2 separate regions of the Homo sapiens genome follow, and region 2 is linked to region 1. Evidence: promoter capture Hi-C in human tissues and cell types (Jung and others, 2019). All regions are on one chromosome and are shown on one strand. The core of a region is centred on a gene start or on the middle of the fragment in contact, and the rest is flanking DNA. Distances in the headings are between cores, read along the strand shown. Region 1 holds the start of ACAA2 (acetyl-CoA acyltransferase 2). Region 2 overlaps CTIF (cap binding complex dependent translation initiation factor).

Region 1 (4,396 bases), core at 1,012-3,511:
GTCTCCTTTAATGTGATACTATTCCTATTTTAGCCATTTTTTGTTTTTCACCACACTGATGTTTTTAAAGAGTTCAGGTCAGTTGTTCTGTGGAATGTACCTCCATGTGGATTTGTCTCATTGTTTCCTTATAATTAGATTCAGGCCAGATGTTTTCAGCAGAAATTCTACGCAAGTGAGATTGTGTTGTCGCTGTAGCAAGGGGAGCGCATGACGTCAGTCTGTCCCTTTATTGGTGATGGGACACCATTACTTCATAATTTGGTGAAGTAATACCCGCAAGATTTATCCATTGTAAAGGTACCCTTTCCTCTTCATGAGACTTGGAGACTATGTCAATATTCTCTCATATATTTACGTGTTTTAATATATGTAAACCTTTCACTGAATGGTGTTAGAATCCACTCATTAGTGACATTTCCAATTAGAGAAAACACAGTACATCTATAAAGACCTACTGATGGTGATCTGCAGTGGGAAGTTGTGATACTTAACCTTTCTTAAATATGTAGAGGCAAACTGAATAGAAAACTGTGTACAAAAATGAACACTCTATACATGAGCATTTTTTTTTTTTTTTTTTTTGAGACGGAGTCTTGCTCTGTCACCCAGGCTGGAGTGCAGTGGCACGATCTCGGCTCACTGCAAGCTCCGCCTCCCAGGTTCACACCATTCTCCTGCCTCAGCCTCCCCAGCAGCTGGGACTACAGGCGCCCGCCACCACGCCCAGCTAATTTTTTTGTATTTTTAGTAGAGATGAGGTTTCACCGTGTTAGCCAGGATGGTCTCGATCTCCTGACCTCGTGATCCGCCCACCTCGGCCTCCCAAAGTGCTGGGATTACAGGCGTGAGCCACGGCGCCCGGCCTATACATGAGCATTTGTGAAGCTTGTCTAAGATTTGTACATTTGATTGCGTGGATATTTTGCCTTAAAAAGAACTGTAAATGAATAATGTGTGCTGATGTGTTCATGGGTGTAGAGTACTAAGGTCTGCATTAAAAAGATAAGATGGTTTGATGGAAGAACAGGTGGATAGCAATATAGCAAAATGTTAACAATTGGGTCGATATGTGTCCACTGTACAAGTCTTCCCACTTTTCTGTAAGTTTGTAAGTTTTCATAATACAAATTTGGATTTAAAAACACCCCAACATTGCAAGAGTGTCACCAAAGTGTTTGAAAAGCAGGATTCTAGGGGGGGCATTCGCTGACGACTCAGAGAAACCGTCCATGCCACCCACCACCCCTACGCACTCAAAAGAAGCCCTCGCTAGGCAGCCCGGCCCTCCGAGCCCTGGTATCGAGGGGCTCTCCGCCTCTCCCCTGCCGCGGCCGCCTCCTGCTTGCCCGGCCTCAGTCTGTTCTCAGAACATACTCCATCACCTGGTTCCCAGAACTCAGATTGCGCAGTGGTCTCGTCATCATCGGCCAGGACTCACAGTGCCCGCGGCAGAGGCCTCCCTAGACCTCCCTCCCGTCCAGCCTCACCCGCTGCCTACTCTCCTCACGCCCCTGCTCCAGGTCCCCTGGCCCCATTTCGCTCGCCACGTTTTCATAATCCTCTCAGGCTCCGGGCAAGCGGCGCCGCCCGCAATGGGACCTGATCATATAAGGAAAATACTGCGGGCTCATCCGGGGGCTGCAATGGGGACCCGAAAGCGCCCTAGCCTACTACAATCACCGCACCCCAACTGCCGCCCACCTCTCTGCCCTGCCCCCAGTACAGTACCCAAAACCGGTCCGGGTCCAGCTCGGCGGCCCAAGCCTCTGCCCAGCGGACTGCGCACCCGCCCGCCCCAGCCAATCCCGCCGCCGCCGCCGCGCCCCGCCCACAGGACGTTCGGTCCCGCCCCCAGCTGGCGGCCGCGGCCGCCCGCGCGCCAAGTTCCTCAGCCCTTGGCTCCTGCCCAGTGTTTAGGGTGTTGGCGGAGACAAAGGGGAAGAGTCATCGCCTGTCGGGGCTAGGATATGATGGGTGAGAGGTGTCAAACCAAATTCTCTCGGTTTGGAAACGGAGAAAATCTAAAAATGAGGATGTGAGGAAAGAGTCCGCTCTCAAGGCGCGTTGTGGTCTATCCGAGCCCCGTCCCCTGGGCTCCCTCGGGCTGGGGTGAGGCGGGCAGCGCTACGCGTGGGGTAGGACCATCTTACGCTGGGACCCCGCCAAGGAGCCCCAGGAAGTAGGTGAAAGGGCAGGGGCGTGGCTCTCGGGGCGCCACCCACGCTCTTGAAATCTGGGTGATTGCGAGCGGCCGCTCAGCGTCCCCCACACCACAGACCCGCGCCGCCGACGACCCAGCAGCCGCCATGGCTCTGCTCCGAGGTGAGCGCAGCCCCCTCCTCCTCTCCTCGCCCCTCGGGGTCCTGCCCTCCCCAGGCCAGGCCTCCGCTTCCGGCCGCCGCGGAGAGTCGGGGTCGTGGGGTGAAGTTCACTCAACCTCCTCGGTTTTGGAGCGGACGTGATAAAAACCCAGCCCGAAAGGCTTGTTTGGGTTAAGGAGAAAACCCTTACTTGTAAGGCGCTAGCGACAGCGATTTCGGTGCAATTTCCTGTTTAGTTGAGACCAAAGTTTGCTTGCATGTGACCTTGGAGGTCATTCCTTTCTTCGCCTAACAGTGACCCCACTAGTTCGAGTCCAAGTATTAGAAAAAATGGGGCGGCGCCATAGGCCGCGGGCGCCTGCTGCGGGGCAGCTGCGCACAGGAGCCCGCCGCTCGGCCTCGGTGGTCAGGGCTCCCCGGGTGAATCGATGGAGAGGCCTGCAGAAATGGTAGCTGGTGTTCTGCTGGAAGACCTGCCCTGCTCCCATTTCCCTTCTGTTGCTTTAGATTAGAGCGGTCACTCTATACCTAAGTTCTAGGGTTATGAACTTGTTTAAAACAACTGTGTAATAAACTCCCTTTTCAAAACAAGTGGGCACAGTCAATGGAATCTTACTTTAAGGATGTACGAGTCGAAGAACATTGAGGTGGAATACATATCGAGGCCCTGAGACAGGAAAAAGCTTGGCAGGATCTAAGAACCAAGCATTTTGGTGCTCCAGGGCCCTGTGGGCTCTGTAAGAAGGTGGGGTTTTGTTCCAAATTCAGTGGAAGGCAATACAGGGATTTAAAGCGGGGTAATGACAGGATCTGATTTCCACTCTGTCCGAATTTGGGGCGGTCTGTGTAATGGCGAAGAGACCATTTAAGGATCTATTGTAGAGGTCCAGGGAGCAGCAAATGATGGCTTTGACTCGTGTGGGGCAGTGTAATTGGGGAGAAAAGGGGAGGGATGAGTTGAGATAGATTTGGAGGTGGATTTGATAGAAAGTGGATTGGATGTGGTGGAGTAAATATAAGAAGGAAATGTCGAGAATGATGAAAAGTGTCTGGTTTGATGAACCGTGTTCATGATGATGCCACTTTACAGAGTGAGGAAAATTGGGAAAGGAATAGATGTGGAAAGAAGGATTGAGAATTCAGTTTTAGGCAGAAAACTTTTTGGTGCCTGTGAAGCAGCCAAGTGGAGATGCCAGCTAAGCATTGGTTAGGGGGATCTGAAAGTGAGAAGAACCAAAGTGGCATGGGAACAAATCAAGGGAAAAATCCGTATTCTGGGACCAAATGCAGTGTTTACAGTTTCCTGCAACGTGGATTTCATTTGCCAGTGCCCTTCCTGACTGAATTTACTACATTTACTTCATAAAGCAGCGTGGTGAATTTTTTTTAGACGAGGCATTTACACTTCATTTAAAAGGTGCATTGTCATGAGCTATCTTCTAAAAAAGGAAATAATATTTTTACTGATATCATTTTAATATTTTATCAGTGGTTCTTACCCTTTCTTATAATACAGACCTGTTTGAAAATTTCACAAATACTATAAACCCAAAAAGGAAAAAAATGCACATTGACACCTGTATTAAGGAAGTATAAAGTTTATAAATTTCTGGTACAATTTACTGTAGTGTTAGAGCTAGTGATCGTATTTTTTTCCATTTCCTTATTGTAGCAATTAGGAGGACACTCATGTCGAGAGAGGTAAAGTGGTTGTGTATAATAACACAGGTAGTTAGTGGCTGTGACTAGAACCCAAGCTTTGAGCTTGAAATAGTGATGTTACAGGCCAGCTAGAATCATTAAAGATAAACTTCTCTCAAGCAGCATACCAAGTGTTTGCAGGATGGGTGGGAAGAAAGAAGAGCATGTGACTGATTATAGGGAAAAGGACACATTTGAGTTAAATTTTGTTAAGGATTAACATTAATTTGTCAGATTTCAGTCAACAAGAAGAACCGGCTCCTAGGTTTTTATTAGCACCCATCCCAGTACTTGGCAGGAGGTTTTCGCTCGACAGATCATAGCTCTCCTACTGCTCCTAGCTTTGTTGGGAATGTTTGTGTATTTTTTCA
Region 2 (4,396 bases), core at 1,079-3,578, 1.2 Mb after region 1:
TGAATAAATGTTAGCTTTCATTCTATTATATTTTACCACCTAGCAGAAAAAGAGCAAATTTAAATAGTTACACTTTATGCTAAAAACCACCACCAAACAATGTCTAGGAGATCATTAAAACCTACAGATCATAAAACTTACATGTATGCTAGAAGTACAACTTTGTAAAAGATGTTTAAAAAATGATGCACAAAAATTATATTAGTTGCCATAAAATGATTTTTTTCCATTTTTCACTTGCCTCTGTTTTTCCAATTGTTACTTTGAGAAAATAAAATTTTATCCTATTAAAAAGTAATTGGTGGCCAGGCACAGTGGCTCACGCCTGTAATCCCAACACTTTGGGAGGCCGAGCAGGGTGGATCACCTGAGGTCAGGAGTTCAAGACAAGTCTGGCCAAAATGGTGAAACCCTGTCTTTACTAAAAATACAAAAAATTAGCCAGGCATGGTGGCAGGCACCTGTAATCACAGCTACTCGGGAGGCTGAGGCAGGAGAATCGCTTGAACCCGGGAGGCAGAGGTTGCAGTGAGTCAAGATCACACCATTGCACTCCAGCCTCGACAACAAGAGCAAAACTTTGTCTCAAAAAAAAAAAAAAAACAAAAAAAAAACGGCCAGGTGCGGTGGCTCATGACTGTAATCCCAGCACTTTGGGAGGCCATGGGAGGGGATCACAAGTCAGGCATTCGACACCAGCCTGGCCAACATAGTGAAACTCCGTCTCTACTAAAAATACAAAAAATTAGCCAGGCGTGGTAGCACACGCCTGTAATCCCAGCTATTTGGGAGGCTGAGGCAGGAGAATCACTTGAACCTGGGAGGCAGAGGTTGCAGTGAGCCGAGAGCATGCCATGGCAATCTAGCCCGGGCGATAGTGCAAGACTCATCTCAAAAAAAAAGAAAAAAAGAAAATAAAAAGATTGGTAATTCAATTTCATTAGAAATAAAGACAATGTGGCCGGGCGCGGTGGCTCACGCCTGTAATCCCAGCACTTTAGGAGCCCGAGGCAGGTGGATCACCTGGGTCAGGAGTTCAAGACCAACCTGATCAATATGGTGAAACCCCATCTTTACTAAAAATACGAAAATTAGCCAGGTGTGGTGACATGTGCCTGTAGTCCCAGCTACTCGGGAGGCTGACAGGAGAGTTGCTTGAACCTGCGGTGGGGGGAGGTTGCAGTGAGCTGAGATCGCGCCACTACACTACAGCCTTGGTGACAGAGTGAGACTCCATCTCAAAAAAAAAAAAAAAAAAAGAAAGAAAAAGAAATAAGACAATGTGAATTAAAATGACAAGATGTCCCAATACACTGGTGGCAGTATGGATAATGGAAGATCTTTGGAGAGCACTTTAACAACAGCTATTAAAATTAATTTTACTTCTCAGCATCTAACTAAAGAAACTCCATTATTTGTGCAGAAGGAGGCATGTTCAACAGTATGTGTTGAAGTATCACGTATTTCCAGGGGAAAATTTAGAAGTAACCTGAGTGCCTACCATTAAGCAAATGGTTAAATAAATCCATGCTATGGACAACTGGGCAGCCACTAAACGGAACACAGCAGATGTGCAAGCCCAGAAGAATCTCTGGGGCATGTGGGCAGGTGAAAAATGCAAGTTATTGAACAATATATCCACTGGCTATGATATATGATTTGACAATATTGTATTTCTTCAAGTCATACCTATGTCAGGAAAGGCATTAAAAAAGGCAAGGAAATGAACTCACTCATCTGATGGGAGGTAGGAGTAAGGGAGCAGAATGAGGTGGTAGCACAGAAGATTTTATTGTTAATATTTGAATTCTTATGTACCATGATAATGTATGCATAAAGGACTTGTATAATTTAAAATAATTTTAGCTCAGGAGAATTTAATTATTAATATCTGAATTCTTGTGCACTATGGGAATGTATGCATAAAGTACTTGTATAATTTAGAATACATTTTTTAAATAAGGGGAAAATATATAATAAATCCCCCATGCTGAACCACCCCGCAGTCCTCCTATAAACTCACTTCTTCTGTTAAGCCTTTCATGGGTGGTCCACCATTGAGTACTTCCTCCTGTGAGCAAAGACATCAGGAAAAATGAATTTAAGGGCAGAAGGAAATGAAGAGATGGGATTTTAGAAAAAGGGCGAGGGAACAGTGAACAGGGAAGGCAGAATGAAAGGAGAGACGTAAAGAGAAAGAGGAGAAACTTGTTAGGAAAAGCCATTGAGCCGATCTGAACACTCTCACCCTATCCTATTCATTGCCACTGCTGCACCCCTTTGTAAAGATCACTGCATTTTAGATGAAACCCAGGGTTTCCAAGTGCCGGAAAGCATCAAAATAGGGCTATAGGAAGTGATCTTCACTCTCACTGGCTCTTAATTTGACCCCTTAACAAGAATTTACTGGAAACTATGCTGTCATTAAATGTATCTTCATAGGGTTCCTACATGTTATCTTTCCAAGAGACTGGATCGGGGCAGCAGGCCATGGAGGGGGAGAAAGGAGACAGCCCTGCTCCCACTGTGGCAATCAGAGTCATGCACAGGCTTATGAATAGTTCAGGCCCAGGCCCCTCACCTTTGCCTGCATCTCTAGCAGTGGGGCCTGTACATCAGTATTTCTCACAGCTCCCTAAGTGAGTTCATGCTCGCTCAGAGTTGCATACTGCTTCCAAGCTTTCTGGTGATCCACTAGATCATCCACGAACATCACATGTGCCAAAATTTTCCCCACTTACAACATCCTAATCTCTTCCCCAAAAGATTAGTGGTCAATGAGATTTGGAGACCTAATTTTCTTTCTATAGGAAAGAAATCTATATTAACCACCCAACACCCAATCAGTCATGGCCTGTACGGAGCAGGAAACCAGAAGTAGGTGGGGTGGGGATGGGGCTCCAGAGCCCAGCTCAGCCACCACCCAGCAGTGGGGTTTGGCCATGCTCCATTTCTGTGCCTCAGTTTCCCTCCTTTAGAATAGGGCTAAAATCCCTCCTCCTCCCAAGGATAGAGTGACTGTGGGGACTTCCAATCTATTGGACAGCAGGTGCTCCTGAAACATGGGGGAGGGGTACGATGTAAAATACGGGGGAGGGGCGTGGTGTCAAGCATGGGGAGGGGCGTGGTGTCAAGCATGGGGAGGGGTGTGGTGTCAAGCATGGGGAGGGGCGTGGTGTCAAACATGGGGAGGGGCGTGGTGTCAAGCATGGGGAGAGGTATGATGTTAAACATGGCATCCAGAAAATGTTGGCAAACTTAAAACACACATTGTCTTGGTTATTCATCTAAGAGACAGGAAAACTGATCTATCTATCTATCTTATCTATCTATTATCTATGTATTATCTATCTGTCTGTCTATCCATCCATCCAGCCAGCCAGCCATCCATCCATCCATCCATCCATCCATCCTTCATTTCTTTCTAGTTGTTACTGGGAAGGACGAGAGGAACACAAGTGTACAAACATCATGAGATATTTTCTCCCTGAGTGTCAACTGTCACTTCTCAGATCCTAAAAAATGACCTCACCAGCTGAAGAGCAACATTCCTCTCCACTCCCTCAGGTCTTCTCAAGGTTTCCAAGCTTCTTAACAAATTTCCTCCCCAGAAACATCAAAATACCACACAGGCAGACAGGAACATTCCCTGAGTGTTTGCTGTTTTTTTTTTTCTTTTTGGCTTCCATTTAAACTAGTCATCAGATTAAAAAAAAAAACAAGCCAAAGTGCTTTAGCAGAAATATTTCCCATAAAGCTGTGTTAATAGAGAATTTTTTTAAAAAGTATCTTATGTAGACACAGCTAACCCTGGCCTTCCTGAGAGTGGGCCACAGCCGTCCCTCTTCCAGAGTCGGTACCCCAGGTGTGTGTGTGACTGTGGGGATCGGGGAGGCAGGGGCGCGGTAGGGGCAGGATTGAAACATCCTCCCTTTCCGGCAGCAGCAGGCAGGCCTGCAGGCCCCAGCATCCTGCCAGGTGTCTGCATTCTTCGAGGGAATTCCAGAGCATGAAGAAAGTTTAGAGAATGCATCCAAATGTCACACCACACAGGTGTTCTCCACACCACACTTCACAGCAGACGTCAGTCTGAAAGCCCCTCCACAGCCTTGCCTTGCCCGCCACACAGATGGGGGCATCCAAGCGTGAGTCAGGCCCCACTGATCCCTGGAGCTGGTGCCAGAAGCACAGAGCCCAGACTGAAAGCGCTGGGAGGGCACCTCCTTTCAAAACTATGTCCCCGCTGGCTGCTCTGGGCACAGAAATTCTACCATCAGCCACGCATACCTCTGGGGTGAAGCTTTGAGGCTTCCTTGGCTCCTCCAGGTAGAGCAAATTTCAGCTGGAGGAACCTTTGGAGGATGCCCTGCTGCAGGCCTGGATGCCACACAGCTGA

What was found. The method cuts DNA at HindIII sites, captures the fragments that hold promoters and counts their contacts. A contact is called where the count stands out against the background at its distance.
Region 2: a fragment that was not itself captured here is called in contact with the fragment with the promoter of ACAA2 in region 1 in 1 of the 25 tissues and cell types used here (dorsolateral prefrontal cortex).

The regions. Positions count from the first base shown.
Region 1 is chr18:49,811,398-49,815,793 of GRCh38, reverse strand. It overlaps ACAA2 (acetyl-CoA acyltransferase 2), which reads left to right and starts at 2,261. Exons shown (of 10, transcript NM_006111.3): 1 at 2,261-2,325. The coding sequence starts at 2,310. SNHG22 (small nucleolar RNA host gene 22) reads right to left here and starts at 1,771. Exons shown (of 4, transcript NR_117096.1): 1 at 1,732-1,771. It also overlaps SCARNA17. RefSeq lists silencers at 1,749-1,918, 2,161-2,455, 2,349-2,468. The HindIII fragment of the contact is 6,306 bases long and covers 1-3,544 here.
Region 2 is chr18:48,622,864-48,627,259 of GRCh38, reverse strand. The region is part of intron 2 of CTIF (cap binding complex dependent translation initiation factor); the gene reads right to left. Among named protein-coding and RNA genes, the nearest start is that of MIR4743, 46 kb to the left of the region's middle. RefSeq lists an enhancer at 3,909-4,088. The HindIII fragment of the contact is 3,233 bases long and covers 712-3,944 here.